2 separate regions of the Homo sapiens genome follow, and region 1 is linked to region 2. Evidence: promoter capture Hi-C in human tissues and cell types (Jung and others, 2019). All regions are on one chromosome and are shown on one strand. The core of a region is centred on a gene start or on the middle of the fragment in contact, and the rest is flanking DNA. Distances in the headings are between cores, read along the strand shown. Region 1 has its middle 22 kb from the start of GP9. Region 2 holds the start of EFCC1 (EF-hand and coiled-coil domain containing 1).

Region 1 (7,128 bases), core at 2,252-4,751, 81 kb before region 2:
AAGCCCCACGATGTTCACTTCTGAGCCCCCACCTGCACGCCCAAGCTGGGTGCTGGGTCCCAGAGGTGAGTCTGCCTTGCTGCCTCCAAGGGCTCCCAAAGCTCCAACCTGGACCCCACTCCTCCCTGCACACATTTGCCGCTGGGATTGGCCAGCCCCGCCCTCAGGGAAGCCAGGAGGCAGGGGGGCCCCTTCCCTGTCCTCACCTTCACCCTGGCTACTCCCATCCCCACCCAGCCCACCCACCTCCTGCCTGGGCCTCTGCCCCAGCCTCTTCCTGACCTGGTCCTGCCTGGGCATCTCCTTGTGGCTGCAGAGAGCATCCTCAAGCAAGACCCCTAGCCACAAGGTCCCGACTCCCTCACTCAAGACCTCTTCCACGGTCCTTGTGGCCCTCGGGCTCCTTAGAGAGGGCCCAGCATTGGCCACTCTCCCCTGACCTGGCCACACACAGCCACACGCTGCTCTGCCACCCCCAGTCTGAGCTGCTCCCCGCAGACCGACCATCTCAGGCCTCCTGTGGTGTAATGGGCTTCTCCAAGCCAAGAGTTCCTGTTCCCAAACATCCTGAGCTGGAGCCCCAGGCCCCAGGAACAGCCATCTGGCCCTGACCCTGAGCTCCCAGACACTCCTATGACCCTGCAGAGGGCAGGAGGCCAGGCCCCATCTTGCCCAGGGGTTGCAGCCGCTGACCATGGTTCCCCACTGGAGGGCTAAGTCCCAGCTCAGAGAAAGCTGTGGACTCAGCTCGTGTCCACTGTGTGCTTTCAGCGGGCCACGGTGCGGCCCACTGCAAGCAACCCTGTCTACAGCTCTGGCTACGGAGGCCGTGGTGGGTCGGGCTCATCCCCACCTAGGCTCCTGGGATCTGGTCCTGTCCTTGCCACACTTGGGCAAGGAGGTTTCCCTTTCATATCAGATTTTAAAAGATTTGTTTCGGCTGGGTGAGGTGGCTCACCCCTGTAATCCCAGCACTTTGGGAGGCCGAGGTGGGCGGATCACAAGGTCAGGAGATTGAGACCATCCTGGCTAACACGGTGAAACCCCGTCTCTACTAAAAACACAAAAAATTAGCTGGGCGTGGTGGCAGGCGCCTGTAGTCCCAGCTACTCGGGAGGCTGAGGCAGGAGAATGGCGTGAACCCGGGAGGCGGAGCTTGCAGTGAGCCAAGATGGCGCCACTGCACTCCAGCCCGGGCGACAGAGTGAGACTCTCTCAAAAAAAAAAAAAAAAAAAAAGATTTGTTTCTTAGCACAACAGTTGGGTCTGCTGTATTCTGGCCCTTCACTCTGCCAGGAAGCTCCACAGTCTGTGCTGGTTGGTGGCAAGCAGGAGAGGTGTGGCCCATTGAGAAGCCAGCACATGGCAGAGGAGGCCGGGAGAGGGAAGAGTGTGGCCAGGTGGCCCCGAGGGAGCTCCCTGGAGCCGGGTGAGTAGGGCCTGTCTGCTCCTGCCTTGCTCCACTTGTGGTCCGTGGGCCAGCAGCGTGGGTATCACCTAGGAGCCTATACAAAAATGCAGAACCTCAGCCTCTACCCCAGACCTCCTGAGTCAGAATCTGAATTTTAAGAAGATCCCCAGGGGGATCCTCATTGTGTGCACATGACCGAGGAACTCTGGTCAACACAGCCTGCTCACTGCACAAGCATGGCCCAGGGTCAGGCCCTGACATCCTAGAATTTTTGGTTTCTTCCATTGGCCTGAAGGATGTTATCCATTTATGTCTTGGTCAAGTGTCTTTTCCTTCCTTTCTACAAGTGCCAACTTCATCTGCAGACTTCAAGGTCAACGGGCTCACAGCGGCTGGGCGCAGTGGCTCACGCCTGTAATCCCAGCACTTTGGAAGGCTGAGGCGGGCAGATCACGAGGTCAGGAGATCGAGACCATCCTGGCTAACATGGTGAAACCCCGTCTCTACTAAAAAAAAAAATACAAAAAAATTAGCCAGGCCTGGTGACGGGCACCTGTAGTCCCAGCTACTTGGGAGGCTGAGGCAAGAGAATGGCATAAATCCGGGGGACGGAGCTTGCAGTGAGCCGAGATCGTACCACTGCACTTTAGCCTTGGTGACAGAGCGAGACTCCGTCTCAAAAAAAAAAAAAAGGCTCATGGCTTGCTCCTCAGCAAGGCTCAGACTCCATCCCATAGCCAGAGACAGCGCCATGAATGGAGTCAGCCATGAATGGAGTCAGCAGGACCCCTGCATCACCCTGACACCCAGACACTCTCCCCAGGGCACTTTCATCATCGAAGCGCTACTCTGCCTGGAAACATGCAAGCTTGTCATCCCTAATCATGTTTTTGTTGTTGTTGTTGATTTTCTTCATGTTACCTTGTCTAAGGCCTAATATGGTCCTTGATCTCTTCTTGATCCTTGACCAACTTGACGCTGTAGACTCTCTGGGCAGAAAAGACATAAATTCACATATAGATGCCAAATATGGTGCATTGTCAGGTGTGAGTAGATGTACGGCTGAAGGCTGCTCAATTTCCACGTCTAGAATCTTCAAACTTCTATCAGATCGGCGGCTACAGCCACCCAAGGTGATGGGGGCTGGTATTTATTGCGAGGTTTCTGTAAACTTGTATTGTTCTCAGCATTGTACAAGAATTCATAAGACAGTTTAGGTGCTTTGCCTCAAATTGCACATCTAGTCAGTGGCAGAGGTAAGATTAGAACCCTGTGCATCTGGGCTCCAGGGACTGGGCCTTAACCCTGGAAATCCTGAGAGTGGACATTGGGTATTTGAGGGTGAGACGGTGGCTGCAGCGACAGCTACCACATAATCAGGATTAGATTCAACAACATGGACATAATTCTAAATGAACATTTCTGAAAATAACACCCCTTATAGGGATCTCCCTGAAGGAAATTTTTTTTTTTTTGAAACAGGGTCTAGCTCTGTCACCCAAACTGGAGTGCAGTGGCACCATCTCAGCTCACTGCCACCTCCGCCTCCCGGGATCAAGCCATCCTCCCACCTCAGCCTCCCGAGTAGCTGGGGCCACAGGTGTGCGCCACCACACCTGGCTAATTTTTATATTTTCTGTAGAGATGGGGTCTTGCTATGTTGCCCAGGCTGGTCTTGAACTCCAGGGCTCGAGTGATCCTTTCACCTCAGTCTCCCACAGTGCTGGGTTCCAGCCATGAGCCACTGGGCCTGGTCTAAACTTTACAGTTTTCTGTAAGAAGTATATATTATGTTAGCTCTGAAAGAAACTCTGAAAGAGTCATGAAAACAATATAACATTTAAAAATGCTTATGATGCAGTATTCACTGAACGACTCAGAACACCAAAATATAGAAATTTGAAATGTTATGACTGATGTAAAAACTAGAGTCTGGGCCTGGCGTGGTGGCTCATGCCTGTAATCCCAGCACTTTGGGAGGCCGAGGCAGGTGGATCACCTGAGGTCAGGAGTTCGAGACCAGTCTGACCAACATGGTGAAACCCCGTCTCTACTAAAAATACAAAATTAGCTGGTGTGGTGGCGGGTGGCTATAATCCCCGCTACTTGGGAGGCTGAGGCAGGAGAATTGCTTGAATCCAGGAGGCAGATTTTGCAGTGAGCCTAAATCGTGCCACTGCACTCCAGCCTGGGCAACAGAGTAAGACTCCATTTCAAAAAACAAACAAAAAAAAAAAACTAGAGTCTGGATATGAGACGGTTAAGGGACCCTTAAGGTGGTTAAAGGACCCTTAATGTGGTTAAGGTAAGGAGGATTTAAACCCCAACAGGCAGAAACTTTCTTCCCTTTCTTCTTTCTCTCCTCTTCCTCTTCCTCCTCTCTTTTCTTCTCCTCCTCCCACCTTCCTCCTTCCTGGGCGGGGTGTGGGTCATCGTGGCTTTCTACATGTCCACTGAAGCTGTTACCTGTGTGATGCCAGTGAGCCCGCTGGACTCTGGCCGCTGAGTCCTTTCCAGATGGCACCGAGTCCCTGGATGAGACCCTCGAGTCCCGCACACCCCTCTGCTTCCTGGCACATGTCATACATTCTCCGCTGCAGACCTGGAGTCAGTCATTACTCCAAGGAGCCCTTGAGGGTTGTGTTGTTCTTAAAACAAACTTCTAAGTTCTCTCCTGTTCTTTGCCTGGCGTTCCTTTCTCCTGTTGTTTTAAACATTGTCTTCCATGTGAGGGCTGTTCCTCAGGTCTGGGGATTCCTGGAAGCCTGAGTGCCCAGATAGGGCTTATCAATGGGTGGACTTCTCCCTGTTGGGTGATTTTGGGCCCAGCTGCTCTTCCACTGGGGAGGGGTCCCCTAATGTCTGTAGCCAGAGAGAAGAGATCTTTTCCCTGAAGCATTTCCATTTCTCTAGCACAGGATCTTCTAATCTCCTTCCTGGGGGTGGTGGGGATGGGAGAAACCCCATTGCGTGCGCCGGGTAGCCAGTCAGGAAGGAAGCCAGGGTCCTGCGGCAGGAACTGTGGACGTTCCCGTCTATTTTTGGCCCTGTACCAAATTTTTGCCCTCCACTCTGCCTGCTTTCCCAAGGCTGGGGTTCTCTTTTCAATTTCTTAAAAAATGAACCCCTGCCCCTCAAATTTCCATTTGGACGGGGTGAAGCGGTGGTCCCTAGATGCAGAAATCAGGGAGGGGCCTGAGGGTTACAAATGCTGGGAGCTAGACTTCCAGGCAAGCCCTGATTTTCAGGCCTCTCTCGTGATCTGTGGCGATCCGCAGCATCTGAGTGCTGACCCCTGGGGATCCTGGGGGCACAGTGGCTGCTTCTCCTCAGGTTTCCCCCTGCCAGCCACACTGTGATCTGTGGAAGTGGCCACTGCCTCCATCCACTCTCCGCTCCACAGAAGCATGTTGGCCTCTCTTCCCCACAGTCACCTCCCCTCATTCCCTTTGTCCTTGTGGATTTATCCCTTTTTAAAAATAGGCCAGATGCGATGGCTCATGCCTGTAATCCCAGCACTTTGGAAGGCCAAGGTGGGCAGGTCACCTGAAGTCAGGAGTTCGAGACCAGCCTGGCCAACACGGTGAAACCCTGACTCTACTAGAAATACAGAAATTAGCCAGGCATGGTGGTGCACAGCTGTAATCCTAGCTACTCGGGGGACTAAGGCAGGAGAATCGCTTGAACCTGGGAATCAGAGGTTGCAGTGAGCCCAGATCGTGCCACTGCACTCTAGCCTGGGTGACAGAATGAGACTGTGTCTCAAAAATAAATAAATAAATAAATAGAAATTAAATTGAATTAAATTTAAAAAATAAAAATAACTGCCAAGGAATTCTGGTGGGGTGTGGGTAGGGAGAGGAGACCCCCTCTCCCCCATGTGGTCAATATGCCAAGTGTAGCTGGAAGCCTGGGGCAGGCTCCAGAGGCGTCCCCACAGCACAAGTTGTCTGTGATGGTTGTCTCTTGTGACAGTTGACCATATGAATTGGGTCACTCTTGTCACACCCAAATAAAACAGAGTCCAGAGGTGGGGGGCAGGAGGGTGGCACATAACACAGCTCCAGGAATGTCATTCTCTGCAGCCTGGCTGCTGAGGCTGTCTGCTCCAACCTGAAACCAGTTTTTTGTTTTGTTTTGTTTTTTTGAGATGGAGTTTTTGCTCTTGTTGCCCAGGCTGGAGCGCAACGGCGCGACCTCAGCTCACTGCAACCTCCGTCTCCTGGGTTCAAGCAATTCTCCTGCCTCAGCCACCTAAGTAGCTGGGAGATTACAGGCATGAGCCACCACGCCCGCCTAATTTTTTGTATTTAGTAGAGATGGGGTTTCACCATGTTAGTCAGGCTGGTCTTGAACTCCTGACCTCAGGTGATCCATCCGCCTTGGCCTCCCAAAGTGCTGGGATTACAGGCGTGAGCCACCACACTCAGCCAAAGCCAGTCTTATCTGATAGGTACTGATACCACCCGTTGCAACTCTAAGATGAGTTTCACTGGCTGTCACTCACCAGTCAGAGCTGGCCAGCGTCCCCAGATTTTACTGGTGCCAATGAACTTTCTGAAAAACAGTATGTACCATTTCTCCTTTTTATAACACCTCCAACCTCCTCTTTGTTCTTCAGACATATTGAAGACCACTTACTTGGTCTGTGTGTAAGACCCAAATCGCTTCCCACATAAAATGTTAAATTTAGAGATTTGTCTCTATATTTTAATCCTTGATTTTTACACTCTGGAAGATGCTCTTCTGGCTATACCCAGCCTTCTGCTGAAATCGCTCATGAGGCCTTTCAGGTGGTGTCAGCCTCATCTCTTCCTTTGTTAAGTTCCTCAGAAAGAAATTTGCCAAGATATTCATAGGATGAACTGAATTTAGAGTTCATCTGGGAGACTTGAATCTTGCTATCATGAATGGGTACATTTTTTGTTTATTCAAACCTTCTTTCTGTTCTCAACAATATTTTGCTATCATTGTTTTTTAACAAACCAAATTTAAAAAACTTCTTTTAGAGATGGAGTCTCACTGTGTCACCCAGGCCGCTCTCAAACTCCTGGCCTCAAGAGATCCTCCCGCCTCAGCCTCCCAAAGTGCTGGGATTACAGGCATGAGCCACCGCACCTGGCCAATTCAACTTTCTAAACTCAATGGAAGGAATGATTCTTCAGGTTATGATGGGAGTCCATGGAGCTTTTCCGAAGTGGAGGACATCAGGTGAAGAGTGTATTCCAGGCTCTGGCCTTGGTTGTATTGACTGACAGGTAGGTACAAACCCAGCAGGCTGGGTGAACCGCAGAGCCTGCCTTCCCTTTTTATTATGGAATCTTTGTAAACAGAAAGCCTCAAAGTTGCCTCCCATCCCCTCCCCTCCTGTCCCCTCCCCTCCCCTGCCCTCCCCTCCCTTCCTTTCCCTTCTCTCTTTTCTCTTCTCTTTTCTTTTTCTTTTCTTTTTTTGAGACAGGATCTCACTCTCTTGCTCAGGCTGGAGTGCAGTGGTGCAATCTTGGCTCTCAGCAACCTTCGCCTCCCGGGTTCAAGCGATTCTCCTGCCTCAGCCTCCTGAGTAGGTGGGACTACAAGTGTGCACCACCATGCCCAGCTAATTTTTGGATTTTTTTGTAGAGATGAGGTTTTGTGTTGTTGCCCAGGCTGGTCTTGAACTCCTGACCTCAAGTGATCCACCGGCCTTGGCCTCTCAAAGTGCTGGGATTACAGGCATG
Region 2 (7,672 bases), core at 4,423-6,922:
CTTACATGAAAAAGTGCCTGGTATGCAGTTGATGCTCAATAAATGCCCATGGCTATTCTGTCTCCTCTCCTTTTCCTTCTTTTCAGAGTGAGAGCTTTGGGGCAGGTCAGTCCACAAACCAGCAAACTTTGACCACAGAAAATGGGCAGAGGAGGTCAGCCCCCCGGGCAAGGTAGGGTTGAAGGCATGTTTCTAGAGGGGCAGAGAAATTAGTGACACAGCCATCTGCCTAATCACCGTGTGCCCTTCACATAGCATCACTCATTCTCTGGTCCTCAATTTCCTCATCACTAGGTGTTTTCTTCAAAGCCTCTGCAATAGCTGCTCCTACTTCTTCCTTACTAACAGAACCCCACTTTTGGCCGGGCACAGTGGCTCACACCTGTAATCCCAGCACTTTGGGAGGCCAAGGCAAGCAGATCACCTGAGGTCAGGTGTTTGAGACCAGACTGGCCAATATGGTGAAACCCCATCTCTACTAAAAATACAAAAATTACCTGGGCATGGTGGCATGCATCTTTAATCCCAGCTATGGGGAGGCTGAGGCAGGAGAATCTTTTGAACCTGGGAGGCAGAGATTGCAGTGAGCCAAGATCGCACCATTGCACTCCAGCCTGGGTGACAGAGCAAGACTGTCTCAAAAAACAAACAAACGAACAAAAAACAGAACTCCAGTTTTGTTTGGGACTGACTAACAGGACTAGCCTCGCAGGTTTCTTCTTATGCCCGATCAGCAGATGCAAGGTCTGGAGGCACAGCAGCCATCGTGTAACTGTGAATCGAAGCACACAGGCAGTGGGGCCAGGCTGATTTGACTTTCCTACTTTCTGGCTGTGTGGCCTTGGGTACATTACTTAACTTCTCAGTGCCTCATTTCTCACAATCTGTAAACTGGGGATAAAACATCTACCTTGTACAACCTTATGGGGACTAAATGGTGCATTGGCTATGAATCCACTTTTTCTATTGTAAAGGGCTATGCCAATGTTTGTAGTCACTTGTAGCATTCTGCTATAGAGGACTAGTTGTGATTTTAGAAATAAACAAAGAAGAGCCCCTTTATTTCTCCTCTTGGATAAAGTTCCAAGGCTGGATGTGGGCCTCAAGCCAACCAGCCCTGCTCTTTAGCCATCAGCTATGCAAACAGGAAGTGGCTCTCCAAACACTGCATGCTGCAGGAGGCTGGCCCAGAGTCTGCCTCTTTGGAGGCCTCCCTCTAGCCCCATGCCTTACCATCTCCCAGCTGTGAGCTTCTCAGATGTCCAGTAGGTTCAAGGCCACCCCTTCTGGCTGCTCCACCCCCAGCCTGGGCTAGACCACCTTCCTCTCAGGATCAGGGATGGCAGGAGCCCCTCACTGGGCTCTGCACTGTCTCCTGCTCTCCCCATCTGCCCATCTCTTTGTCACATTGTAGCCAGGGTAACTTTTTATTGAAATCTGCTTCTGTCACCTCCTTACTTAAAACTTTTCCATGGTTTCATGTTCTTTCTCTTAAGGGAAAAACTGAAATCCTTGCTGCCACCTTCCAGGCCCTAAATGGGCCTCCCTTCAGCTCTACCCCTCCAGCCACTCTGGCCTCCTTTTAGTTTTTGAATGGTCCCTTCTGCCCTAGGGCTTTGCCCGTACTGTTCCAATTTTCTAGAATGGAATGTTCTCTCTTCTCCTCTCTCCATCTGGCCCGGTAACATCCTATCCTCAAGTGTCACTTCTTTGGGGGCAGGCTGATGAGTGTCCCCCACCTCCTGCCTGCTGCCACGCATCTGTTCCTGTGAAGGTCTCACCTGCTCACAGGTGGCTGCTCAGGGCAGGGAATTCAGTCTGTCCTAGTCACGTGGTCACATCCCTGATGCCTGGGATGGCCCCTGGCACACAGAAAGTGCTCAGCAAATGTGTAGTCAGGCCGGCCAGCAGGCAGGGGTGACTTGTGATTTGAAAGGGAGAGAGGCTCTGTCTACCAAGCATCTACCATGTGCCAGGCAGGACCTCATGGCCTCTTCACAGCCACTCCCACAGGCAGGGACCCCAATCTGTGTTCCACCCAAGAGGAAGCAGGGTCTGTGAGGGGTGGTGACTTGCCCACACTCACACGTCTGCCAAAAGCCCTGCCAAGATTTGAACCTGGGTCCCAAGTCCAGCTTCCTGCCCTGGTGGAGCTAGCACAGGCAGTCATTACACACCTGTTTCCTCATCTACAGAGTGGAAACATAGCAGTACCCACCTCACAGGGCAGCTGTGAGGCTTAAATGAGTTAAGCCACATAAAGTACTTAGCTCAAGGCCTGGCAAACAGCGAGTGCTTAGTAACTGTAAGCTATTATCATTATGATCGAATCCAGGAACAAATAAGAATGAGCACATTCAACTGCAATCTATGATAAACAAATAGAGGGTGTTTGTGGATGAACAGGAGGATGGATGGACGGCTGGCTGGCTGGGTGGGTGGGGGGATGGATGGATGATGGATGGGTGGGTGGGTGAGTGGATGGGTGGGTGAGTGAGTGGATGGATGAATAGATGGATGGACGGGTGGGTAGGTGAGTGGATAGGTGGATGGATGAATGGGTGAGTGGATGGATGGGTGAGTGGATGGATGGGTGGGTGGGGGGGGTGAGTGAATGGACAAATGGATGGATGGATGGGTGGGTGTGTGGGGTGGGTGAATGGATGGACAGATGGATGGATAAATGGATGGGTGGGCAGATGGTTGCAGAGCAAGCAATGGAGCAGACTTATAACTTAAGAAATGGAGAACTGACAAAGGAATGAAAGAATACATGAATAAACGCATGGAGAAACTGCGGAACACGAGAGCGCGTGGGAGGGGGATTGCACACCCGAAGTTTGGGAAAATGGGAGCCGAATTGGGGAACTTGGGCCCAGGGCACGCGCCCCCGCTCACCTGTAGCGTTGCAGCTCCGCCTCCAGCCGCCGCACCCAGCGCTGCAAGCCGGGCACCTGTTGCGCCAGCGCCTCCAGCTCTCGCACGCGGTGCAGGCTGCGCAGCACCACCTGCCGGGCCTCCTCCGCGCGCCGCCGCACCTCGGCCTGGCCACGGCGCAGCCGCCCAGCGCGGGCCTCCGCCGCAGCCAGGGCGCCCTGCGCCTGACGCAGCTCCCGCACCGCAGCCTCCGGCCCGCCGTGCCCCATCTCGTGGGTGCTCGCCTGGCTCTTCCAGAGTCCGACCTGCGGGGACAGGGCAGCAGGGGCAGGGGGTAAGTGCCCCAGCCAGATGCACCAGACGAACGCCCGCCACGACGGCGGCCCCATGCCTCTGCACCCAGAAGCGCTTGAGCACGTTTCTTGCGCCGTCTGCTTCCGGGTGCCAGGCCCTTAGGTCCGGTGCGTCCAAGCTCCTTTAACCCTCGCCACATCCCCAGGGAGGCCCAAGCTCTGATTCCTCCTCATCCCCCACCCCCCAACGTTTTTTCACTGAAGGAAACTGAGACACGACGCCTGTATTCTGTTCCCTCTATAGTACCAACCTCGCGACTCTTCTCGGCCTACTGTATTGGCGGCGTTCAGCCTGCCGGGTGGCGGTTCCTCATCTCCTAGACTCCCCCCAGTGGCATTTCCAGCCCTCCCCGTGCCTGCTCACTAGAGGCTTTTGAGGGTGGTTTCTATCTGTCTTTACTGGTGTGTTCCCAGAGCCTAAAACAAACCTGGCACATAGTAGGTGCTCAATAAATACCAAGCATGAGAGATGCCGGAAGACCGTTCAGGCGCATCCCATGGCTCCCAGTACGTTACTTGGGATTCCACATCAGAGGAGTAGTTTCCCGCCTCCACCCTGGCTTCCATGCACACTGACACTGAAAACCACACCTTGCCACTTCCCTGCACTCTGCAGTGTCCTGAGCTAAGGCGGGGTCATATAATGTCAGTTTCTTCCTGGCCTGTTGTCGCCTGGGGTAGGGGCTGTTCCTTTCCTCCTCTGACCCCTGCGGCCCAGCACTGCCCTTGGTGCTCGGCTGGCACAGTGCTTAAGTGTTTGTCGACGGCTCCCAGATGCTAAGGCTGGGTCCCTATCTCACCCCATGGTTTCTTCTCAATAGCCCAGAGCGGGTCTGGTTCCCGCAGGCACTTGGTGGCCCGTGAGTGCCTGATCCACAGTGTGAGCCACATTGTCTGTTTCTCACTTGTCTCTGTTTCTCCCACAGGGAGCCCCATAAGTCTTTGCTGATTGACAGAAGGAGCTGTCAGTCTACCCCAGGAGGCAGGGATATCCCTAAAGGTGAGGACAGGGCCTTCTTCACACTTCTGTCTCCTAAACCTCCCAGAAGCCTGGCAGGAAGGAGAGAGAAAGATGCTTGTTGAAAGGGAATATGTGAGACTACCCAGACAGGTGCAATTCCTAGGTTAAAGGGGCAAGACGCGATGATGTGGCGGTGGAGCAGAAAAGTGGGGTATGGTTGTTTGAGTGTGATTGGGGTTTTCAGGAATGGAATAGGTGGTAAGAATAGGGTTGGGGACTGGAGTGGAATGGGGAGGAACAGGGGCAAGATGCAAGTGTGCTGATGCGGAGTGGGATGGTGTGGGGCTGCCCTCTGTCTCCCCTTCCTCTGACTCTGTCCTGTCGGGCTCCGCAGCCAGCCAGCTTTTAGTTCGAGCCCTCTCCCGGGCGTTACCACCCTCCCTTCGTGGCCGGCGCGCACCTGCAGTGCTAGGCAGCGCGCATCACTGCTCTGCAGCGCGGCGCGCAGGTCCTCCACCAACTCGCGCAAGCTGCTATTCTCCTCCTCCAGCCGCGCAACGCGCTCACAGTCAGGACCGCTGTCGGGGCCAGGCGCGCAGGGCGGGCGGCGGCGGCGGCGCGGACGGCGCAGGCGGATCTGCGTCTCGATGTGCTCGCTGAGAGCGCCGCGGGGCAGCCGGGGCCCCGCACGGGTGCCGAAGTAGCCACAGAGGCGCGCGTGGAACTGGCGGAAGGTGAGCTCCGGCGGCTCGGCGCGCAGCGCCAGGCGCGCCTCTTCATCGGTATCTGAGTCCCCGTCCGTGGCCAACTCAGCGGCCGCATCCCCGGGGGTCACATCTCTGGAGTTCCCGTCACCTGCTGCCTGCCCGGCCGTGGTGGCCCCCTCCGCGCGCAGCCCCAGCACAGCGCAGAGCGCTCGGAAGTCGGCGCGGGGCAGACGGCCGGCGCCGCGGCAGTCCAGGTGGTGGAAGACCTCCTGCAGGTACTGGTCCAGGCCGGTGGCCAGCACCACGATCTCGTTCTCCACGCCGCGGTCCAGCCCGTAGTGGTGCGCCAGGGCGCTCAGCAGCCACTGCGTGCGCCGCGCAGGTCGCCGGTACGGGTCACCTCCCGCGCCCTCCATGCCGGCCTCCGCGCCCGTGCTGACCGGCTCCATCGCTGCGCCGCGCGCCTCGCTCCTCCGGTCCCTCCTCCGGTCCCTTCGCCCCGCCACTTCCAGGGGCGGCCCCAGAGTTTCTCGAAAGGAGGGGCTTAGCGGTCGCGGTCTGGTTGGAGCGGCGCCGGGGACCGTGTCCAGCAGCTGCGCTGGCCTCACAGTGCGTCTGGTTTACCCCAGTTGCTTTGGAGGGGCCTGGGGTAGGGGGTCCAGGAACCCCCGGGACCCCGGCAGCGCCACCAGTGCCCGGTCGGCGTCTGGGTCTGGCTTCTCCGCGTGACTCCCACGCTCTCCTCTCCTCACTCACGGGGCGTTCCTGGCGTCTGCGCTTTTCCTCCCACTCCCGGCCGTCCACTCTCAACTCCCTCCTCCCTCCGCCCCGCCCGCCTGGCGCGGAGAGTTCGCTCCGAGACCTGGGCGAGGGGTTGGCGCGGGATCCGAAGCCCAGGAGGGCCTTGGGGGTGGCGGCCTCGTCCGGTTGCTGGGGATGTGCCCCCACACCCAAGCGTCACTCTTCCCCCTCTTCCCGGAAGGCCTTTCGAGGGTTGCCTGGCAAGCCTGCTCTCGCCGCCCTGTAGCCGTAGGTGCGGAAAAGCCTCCCCTCCGCTTCAATTCAGCTACTGGGTTTCCGAACCCACTTCTTGTGCCACCATAGACCGTGCAAAGAGCCCCAAGTAGTAACTGGGAAAGAGAGGGAAACAGGCTTGGAGAGGCAAGGGGTCTAGGTTAGGGGCACCCCGCTGGTGAGAAGCCCATCTGAGACGAGCCCTGTGCTAACTGCTCTCTCCCGATCCCTGTTGGGGGTGGGGATAGGACTCTCGGGAAAGTGGTGTCTCCCGGCCCTGCCACCTTTGTGCCTGCCGGTGCTGACTTGGCAATGGGATCCGAGTTCCATCTCTTGAGCTGGGGTTAGGTTAACAGGTCGATGATTGGCTGATGTTTTTTTCTGGTGTTTTAGAACACATTTCTGGAAGATGAAGAAAAACCTGCTTCTCTGGTGAGTGCTAGACTGTGTTCCCTTTCTTTTTCACGAGAGGGGTGCAGTGATATTGTGATATTGTCCACCTGTTACCTGCACCGGGAACGGTTATCCAGCCACGGTACCCAGCCATGTTGGAGCAAGAGGCAGACTCTTCAGCTGTTCCTAGCTATGACAGAGACAGAATCTTGCCTTGTGGATAACTCTGTGAGTTTAAATGTAAAATCTTGCCGTTTGAAAAGCGATAGCATTCTGTCTCCTCTGCCACAGTATCCCAGAATCAGCACGTTGTCCATTTGGCAAATTCGTACTTGTTCTTGAAGGCTTTGCCCAGAGTACATATCTGCTGGGAAGGAGTTAGAGGCTTCTCCCCAAGCATTTTGGACATATTCTTTTAGGTTTGTTTTTAATTATAAAAGTAATGGCAATTTGACAAAGTTTTTACATCACGTCCACTTCTTGGCTTCTACCTTCGAAAGCCACTGTGCACAGGATGTTCACTGCATCATTGTTTATTACAGTGAGAAACTGGAGACAACCTGGTGTCCATCAAATCAGCTAGGACTCAGCAAACGAGGATGAGCGGACACAGCAAGCCACAAGCTGATTATGCACAACACTGATGCTTACATAACAAGAACAAAAACACACAAAACAATACTAAGTATTTTCTACTAGGACATGTGTATGTGAGTGCACAGAAGAAGATGGAGGGATTCATAAGTGGATTCAGTGGTTCTTTCTGCAGATGGGAGACACTGCAGTATTTCCCTTTTGTTAAGATGTTCTCATGTGTTTCTTTTTCTTGGCCGGTCGCGGTGGCTCACGCCTGTAATCCCACCACTTTGGGAGGCCGAGGCGGGTGGATTGCCTGAGGTCAAGAGTTCGAGAACAGCCTGGACAACATAGTGAACCACCCCCATCTCTACTAAAAATACCAAAAGTTAGCTGGGCGTGGTGGCAGGCGCCTGTAATCCCAGTTACTTGGGAGGCTGAGGCAGATGAATCGCTTGAACCTGGGAGGCGGAGGTTGCAGTAAGCTGAGATCCTGCCATTGCACTCCAGCCTGGGCGACAGAGCGAGACTCCGTCTCAAAAAAAAAAAAAAAAAAAAAAAAAGAACCTGATTTTATTTCATGTCAGCCCTAAGAGCTGGTAGCCCAGGCAAGAGTGCAACACCCTCCCCACCCCCCATCCCTGCAGCTGGTGAAGGAATCCTTTGAACAGTAGCTTTCCTGGGCCAGTCAATATTGAAAAGAAAGCTTTTAAATGTCTTGCTGGGAGCCGTTGCCGGCCTCCACTCCCCTACAGCTCAGGGAAGTAAGGGTTGATAATGGTTTGCTGTCA

The links. The method cuts DNA at HindIII sites, captures the fragments that hold promoters and counts their contacts. A contact is called where the count stands out against the background at its distance.
Region 1: a fragment that was not itself captured here is called in contact with the fragment with the promoter of EFCC1 in region 2 in 2 of the 25 tissues and cell types used here (H1 embryonic stem cells and adrenal gland).

The regions. Positions count from the first base shown.
Region 1 is chr3:129,079,007-129,086,134 of GRCh38, reverse strand. No RefSeq gene overlaps it. Among named protein-coding and RNA genes, the nearest start is that of GP9, 22 kb to the right of the region's middle. The HindIII fragment of the contact is 5,949 bases long and covers 527-6,475 here.
Region 2 is chr3:128,999,304-129,006,975 of GRCh38, reverse strand. EFCC1 (EF-hand and coiled-coil domain containing 1) reads right to left here and starts at 5,672. Exons shown (of 8, transcript NM_001377500.1): 1 at 4,652-5,672; 2 at 2,899-3,182. The coding sequence starts at 5,347. It also overlaps a transcript of CFAP92 not described here. The HindIII fragment of the contact is 14,506 bases long and covers 1-7,672 here.